2 separate regions of the Homo sapiens genome follow, and region 1 is linked to region 2. The links are contacts of gene promoters, found by promoter capture Hi-C in blood cells and fetal thymus (Javierre and others, 2016). All regions are on one chromosome and are shown on one strand. The core of a region is centred on a gene start or on the middle of the fragment in contact, and the rest is flanking DNA. Distances in the headings are between cores, read along the strand shown.

Region 1 (4,059 bases), core at 247-2,746, 510 kb after region 2:
CATAGAAAGATCCACATGGAGCTTACTTTGGTGTAAGGAATCAGGTTAGATACACAACTTTTCTTTTTCATCCGATAGTTTTCCCAGTACCACTTACTGAAAATTCAGTTGTTTCCCCAGAAACAATTCATATGCAGTATTAAATTCACATATGTAGTTATGTCTATTGCAGAACTTTCTGGATTGCTGCATTTATTTGTCTGGCAATAGGAATATTTTCAAGACAAATTTGGCTTCTGAAATTATTGAATAAAGAATTGGACCTAGAATTATAAAATGAGAGAATAAACTCATAAAGAACTTCTGTGGTTTTCAGTTGCCTCTCAAAGAGGCATTTTTAGTAGAAAACATATAGGCAGTGTTGAGTGCAAAGGTCATGATATAGTCGGCAACTTTTTTCTCATGATATCTGATATAGTGTGTAAAGTTTCTAGATAAATAAAATGACTGAGGGAATAGGCCATTATGTTAATATTCTTAACCAATTACCCACACTATTTATTAGATTAGAAAATTAATTTATCACAGATAGAAATACCAATGTTTCTACACAAGGAATCAAATTGTTCTTTTTAAAAAAATCAAAAATGTATTTTAAATGTTTATATGTTTATACATAAACGATGAAAATTATGGCACAAAAATAGGGATAAAAACCAAACAAAACTTTAATAATTTTTTGTTTTGTGTTTTGTTTTGTTTTGTTTTTTGAGATGGAGTCTTTCTCTGTTACCCAGGCTGGAGTGCAGTGGCGTGATCTCGGCTCACTGCAAGCTCCGCTTCCCAGGTTCACGCTATTCTCCTGCCTCAGCCTCCCAAGTAGCTGGGACTACAGACACCTGCCACCATGCCTGGCTAATTTTTTGTATTTTTAGTAGAGATGGGGTTTCACCACGTTAGCCAGGATGGCCTTGATCTCCTGACGTCATGATCCGCCTGCCTCGGCCTCCCAAAGTGCTGGGATTACAGGCGTGAGCCACCGCACCCGGCCATTTGTCTTGTTAACTTATGTATTTCTGGCAAAGATTCAAAAAAACTGTATATTTAAGAAGTAAAAGATGTTGGAAGAATGAGCTTCAATGTTTTTACATTTATTACTTGACACATTTATATATAGAGAGAAAGAAATACAGTCTGCATGTATCATCATTTACTCATAGACAACAGCAGACAGCTACCCCTTCAGTTGGCAATGAAAGTTCTCTTCTCTTCCAGCTAAACTGCATTTATAATAGTATATAACTAGACATTACCTAATCCTTCTTAACTTTATTTACTATCAAAGAAAGTACTATTTCCAAGTCTAGAATTGGTATGTGCCATCCAATTGCTCTTGTAGAGTACCATATTACCAAAAAATCAACTTCCACAAGACCATTTTGCTAGTCTCTCTCTGGATGAAATTTAAAATGTCCTGTTTAAAGCCAAAACATGGGCAATATAGATACATTTATGGGCATAGCCTGTGGCTCAAAAGAAGGATGTAAAACTCTTAAATATTATGCAACCATCTAATAAAGACACAGGAAATGTATTTTGAGAATTGAAATGTATTCCTGAGAATTTTTTTTAAATTGAGGGACTTAGAACCTTTGATTTATTTATTTTTCTTTATATATATACAAGTAATAGGGTGCTACTTGTATGTGGGGGAGAAGGGATGTGTGAGGGACCGTTGAGAAACATACTCCTTATCCCATAAAGATTGGACTGGCCTAGGAGTAGGCAGCGACCACAGAAAGTAGAGATGGGGGCTGAACACGGGATGATCTGAAATCTATGTAACGTGTTGTTTGACTTCAAGACCACACAGTGTCCGACAGTGAATCCTTCCCCACCTCTGCAGGAGACTCCTTGTCTGGAAGAACTGCATCAGAGGCTGCAGGCCTGGGAGCTTACTAGGGGTGACGTGCCGTATGAAAACAGGTGCACTAAAATAAAAGTAGCATACTGAATGGTGGGATTTCTAGCCCCATTTCCCTGTCAAGTTCCCAAAAGCCAGTAACCAGGTTTATATCTCTAGTCAAGAAATTGGAGAATAACTTTTTACTGATATGTGCATTTCCCTTTCGAGGTGGGATGCAGATGGCTGGCTACCCGATTACCCTAAAGTGAATCCCATGAACCTATGCCTCCATCTGTAAAAATACGATGTACACACTGCGGTTTAGTGCCTTATTCTTAAGTGTGAACTAACAGTTTAGGATCACCTGACATTTGGGGAAAGCACATGATACCAAAGATTTTTTAGTGTGCTTTCCTTAAGGGATGACAGTATTAAGAAAGACTCAGAGACTATGTTGTTCTGTCAGTGATATGAATGAAAATATAAGTCTGTGTCAACAATGAGAATCTATGGAAAGGGAAGCAAAAAATTGGTAAGTATCCCTGAATTCCAAGTTGGGTATGAAAGTTTCTATAGAAATAAGTCCTGTATTACCAATAGTATTAAACATTCATTCATTATTTGAAATTATCTCATGCATTTACTTTATTTCAATTTTATGTTCTAGCACAAGAGCTGATAAGCGTTTTCTATCATGGGCCAGGAAATAAAAATAGTAGGCTTTGTGGGCTATGCCTATATAGTAGGTGTGGTCACCCTACTCCATTCTGCTGTTGTAACTAACACAAAAGCAGCCTGAGACGTTATATAAACAAACGGGCATGACTATTTTCTAATACAACTGTATTTACAAAAACAGACTGTGGGCCCATTTTGACCTGCACATTGTGGTTTGCTGACACTTGGTTTAGTTCATCCAGTAGAGTGTTAGATCTATGAGAACAGATATACTATAATACTTGTACTGTGATTCCAGTGCCTAGAGAATATTCATAACCTTTGGATGATTAAAGAATTTGTACTACACCTTTTAGGATTTTGTGGACTTCCTATGCAGATATTTACAGTCTGTTTTCTAAAGCCAAAAAGTGGTGGTGGTGGTTCCAAATGCTTCATTCTTATGAGAACTTTGTAACCAATTCATAAGCTAAAGACTGCCAATGTTATATTACAAATAATGTGTTGTGAAGGACTGCTCTTGGGTAAGGAAAGGACTCCTCCTCCTGAAATTTATAATTTGGAAACAATTTGGTAAAAACATAAAAGTAGTTGTTGAACTGACACTAGGATCTATGCTCTCTTGACTATCCCAGGACTTTTTAACTATTACAATTTTGTCTGTTTAAATATCTTGTAGTTCAATTTTTTTGGAGATTATTTTTGTTGTTGTTGTTGTTGTTGTTTTTATTGTTATTATTATTATGACAGGGTCTTGCTCTGTTGCCCAGGCTGGAGTGCAGTGGCGCGATCTCGGCTCATTGCAACCTCAACTTCCAGAGCTCGTGTTGTTCTCTGGCCTCCACCTCCTGAGTAGGTGGGACTACAGGCACACACCCACCACAGCAGGCTATTGTTTTTTTTTTTTATTTTTTGTAGATACAGGGTCTTGCCATGTTGCCCAGGCTGGTCTCCAACTCCTGGGCTCAAGCAGTCCTCCTGCCTTGGCCTGTAGCTTGACCTGTAGTTCAATATTTAAGCTGCTTTTCCAAAAACTATCTTGTAGACTTGTTTATCTATTGAAGACAAGCATTCTAAGAAAATCCTCAAAACAATAACGGGTAATGAAATACTCTTGTTTTACAGTAAACCTATGATGGACTTGTTGATATTCCTTTGTGCACAGTATCACTTAAATCCATCAAGTTACACAATCGATCTGTTGTCAGCTGAACAGAACCACATTAAATTTAAGCCAAACACACCAATAGGAATGTTGGAGGTAGAGAAGGTAATTTTAAAGCCAAAAATGTTGGATAAGAAAAAACCTACACCTATAATACCAGAGGTAAGAATTCCATTATATATTTTGATGTCTTATTCAGTCATTATCAGCAGCTCATTGTAAGTGAAATAAAAATGGACTTTACTGGTTAAATTTGATGTGAATGTGAGTATTATGTTTTTCTAGGCACTTTGTTTAGGATTCAGTTGGCTATTGATCCCTGGATTAAATAGAATTTGGGCAGTACTTTAGATTTAATGCTCTAAAATGA
Region 2 (3,521 bases), core at 482-2,981:
CACACACACGCACAGTGAATATCATCATACCTGGTCTATGCCATCCTGATATGTTCACACTAGAGGTGAATTGTGTTACTGCTATGGAAGATGTGGAACTGTCAATCACTGTTCTAGCCTTGCCTTATTGTAATTTAGTACGTGACTCTGGGAAATCCACCTTATCTCTCAATTACAATTGCTTTTCTTTAAATGATAATGGGGATAAATGGTTAAATATCTGTAATTCTAAAAATCTCCATGTATATGGAGCCATGTAGAACTACAAACTCTATAGATTCCACACATTTAAAAAACATGTTTTTTTCATGGTTTGTCCAAACCATTTTATAAAATCATTCCCCATAGCTTTCACAACCTCTGACATGGCAAAACTACCTCTTTACAGGAAAACAATGACTGAGATAAAAACATCCTGATGCACCTCCACCGCCTGCCACCTCCACCATCACACACACACACACACACACACACACACACACACAGCTCTTTCCACAGGAGAAAGAAGTGAGGCATTTAAAAACAATCTTACAAAACTATTTTTAAAATATTTGTAAAATCTCTTTAAATTTCTCTAAATGAAAATCAGTGGTTTTTAAATATAGGATTTCTATATGTCTTTATTCCTGTTATTCTAATAATAATCAAGCAAGGATTTAAGGGAAATCACGAGAAGCAGCAGAGAGAAGCAAGGCTGTTGCATGCAACTTCCACCTCCTGAGTCATTCCACTCTTTAACACAGATAATGTCACATGACCTAAAATAATTTAAAATGTGAGCACCTTCTATAATATCAACTATTTAAAATGGCCACGGTTCTATTATCCCAAATCCAATAAAATACAGAAAAAATCAATTTTCATGGCAATTAATTTGTGTTCAGCATACTCCTCACATCCATACTGGGGGAGGAGGGAGGGTCTATAGTCTCATTCCAAGTCTATTAAACACATTACATAAATCTTGATTCATGTGGGAGAAATGACTTACGTATTATTTCTAAGAGGTAAAAATAAAGACATAAACAATCTGTACCATCATAGCCAGCAGAAATCGTTCAAAAGGCCTTTGGACTCAGAATATTGGCTTGCCTCTGAGGCTGCAATCAGAAGGCTCAGCCCTGAGCTTTGGCAGAGCCACTGCCATGTTAATCTGCTTCATTATATCTCTACAATTTGTTCACTGCATTAAGGAGCAGTATTTCCCTTGTGAAAGGAAAACCCATCCTTCACTTTGAAAGCTTTACCTTTAAAAGGTAAACAAATACAGCCAGAGACAGAGACCAACAGCTAGAAAGCCAAAGAAATAATAAAACACGGTATGTCATAGTCAGAGCTCATTTCAGCCTAGGAAGATTTTAAATTGCACAACAGCTAGAATTAGAGCTTTTGAATCTCTTAGATCTGAATACAAGCTAACAAAGCACACATCTTATATTAAATGTCATTCTTAACATAGATAACAATCCGTGGATAAGTCAAAAATAGAATCATGCTGGCTTACCTGAAATAAAGAAAAATGTAAATCATAACACAGAATCCACGTATGTGTTGAATATAACAGTCTCCAATGCAATTCTTCAGAATTTTTACTGGAGTAGAAAGTAAAATCTCACATGTGCTCTATCCTCATTAAAGAAGAAAAAAACAAGAAAGGATGACCACAGCATCCTCCCTCCTTTGCCTTAGCTTTCTGTTCTGACAGTCATTCGATGGTACCCAATGTCTGTTAGAAAACAGCATGCTAAATTAGAAAAATAAATAAATAAAGGCAGCATCTTACATGACAGCTCCATCTCCTGGTCAAAAGTGGAACCATCTTAATTCACGTTCCTTTGGCTATGTAGCAGTCAGCACATAAAATTAAATGATGTACAGCCCATAATTCCACTCTATTTGAAATCAACTACTTTAATTAACTGTAATTTAAACATTTAAGAAGAATTATAGTATGAATTTTTAGAATTATAATTCTATTTTGGGGATTCAAATTTCTTTACATTATGTTTAAACTAAATGGAAGCTTTTCCCATCATTGAAAACTTAAGATTTATTTAACTTTATATACCATCTGAAAAAGTAATATGTATCTCCTATAAAACAATTTTAGATGTCAAGCTTATTGATAATGAACATCACATCTCTTTGTGGAGAAGTATAAGTTTTTGTCACTAGAGAAGTTAACACATAACACTTGTGTTGCTATTGTTTGGAGGAATGTTGAAAGGTTAAAGATAAGGCAGGAAAATTAAATGACTTAAAGGCAAACTTGAAAAATCTTTAGTTAATCTAATCTAACTACAAAAATACAGACGACAAGTTACATGCAACATGAAATTTGATAATTGTAGTAGTATACTATAGTGTGTAGTTACATCTTCTTAGAGAGATAAGAGAAAATTAAATTGTCAAAAGAATCCATTTGGTAAATGACACCATTTATAGAATCAAAGTTTTACTGAGCATATGATGTTCTCAATATATGTTTGTTTAATTAATTATTCTTCTTATGAACAGTTGTGAAGGCCAGGATCATTTTTTTAAAATTTGAAGTAAAAGGATAGGCATTTTTTTTCTCCCACTTTTTTACAACACCATTTTAATTTGGGGCCAAATCGATCTTTAATTTCCTATTGCAGTAACGCTGTCCATGGTGCTGAGAACCAATTTTAGAACTCATGGTGAGTTCTAGGTCTTAAACGGGTCTGAAATACTGTCTTTGTCAGATTTGATATAAAATTTACCATTAAAAGTCCCCAGATCAGCCAGAATAATTGATAGTATCTAATATAAAAATAGTTAAGTAATTTTTTTATCCACAAAATATGTATATACACATGTCCATCAGAAGCCAAAATGCTGATAAATACATTTAATAAAATACATGATTGCAAGCTACACTTTCTTTGGATTCATAATATTTTATTTTCTGTGTGCTAAAGTTATACTGAATAGATTGCTTTAACATAAGGTTGTTCCCACACTATTAAATAGACGAGGAAACCAAAGCCCACTCTTCAGTAACTTATCCAGTATTAATAAGCAAGTCAGAAGAACAAACCCAGTTTCTTAAATTTTACCTTACTTCCATTTCTACAACATTATTAAGATGTATTAGTTTGGTTATGAAAATATATTTTTAACACTGAACAAATAAATAATTAAAGTGACTTGGTAGATCAAATTATTTTAATGTATACACTCAACTATTTCATCTCACAAGTTTCCTGCACTATCATAAGATACATAAGCTCTCAGGGCACATAATTATGATAATTTTGCCAAATTAATTTGCAATTTCAACAAATTACTCCTGATGGCCAAGAAGCTTAAACCTGTAAGATTAAAGCCTAAGATGCCACAAATATGAAATATTATTGATACTTTATTTTTAAAATCACGGGAATTTTACAATAATTTATATAAAATTTAAATGTTTTTCTTAACACAGTAATCATTTTTCCCCATAGTCTTGAGGGTAAATTTTATCCTTAGGGAAGATGTGACTAACTGATCCTGGG

Evidence for each region. Contacts are between HindIII fragments. The CHiCAGO score rates a contact against its expected background, and 5 or more counts as called.
Region 1: a fragment that was not itself captured here is called in contact with the fragment with the promoter of SCN2A in region 2 in 3 of 17 cell types (naive B cells, total B cells and fetal thymus); the score reaches 6.4 in naive B cells.

The regions. Positions count from the first base shown.
Region 1 is chr2:164,729,706-164,733,764 of GRCh38, reverse strand. COBLL1 (cordon-bleu WH2 repeat protein like 1) reads left to right here. Exons shown (of 14, transcript NM_001365672.2): 4 at 3,650-3,851. Among named protein-coding and RNA genes, the nearest start is that of SNORA70F, 44 kb to the right of the region's middle. The HindIII fragment of the contact is 6,157 bases long and covers 1-4,059 here.
Region 2 is chr2:165,237,624-165,241,144 of GRCh38, reverse strand. It overlaps SCN2A (sodium voltage-gated channel alpha subunit 2), which reads right to left and starts at 1,731. Exons shown (of 27, transcript NM_001040142.2): 1 at 1,505-1,731. The HindIII fragment of the contact is 782 bases long and covers 1,244-2,025 here.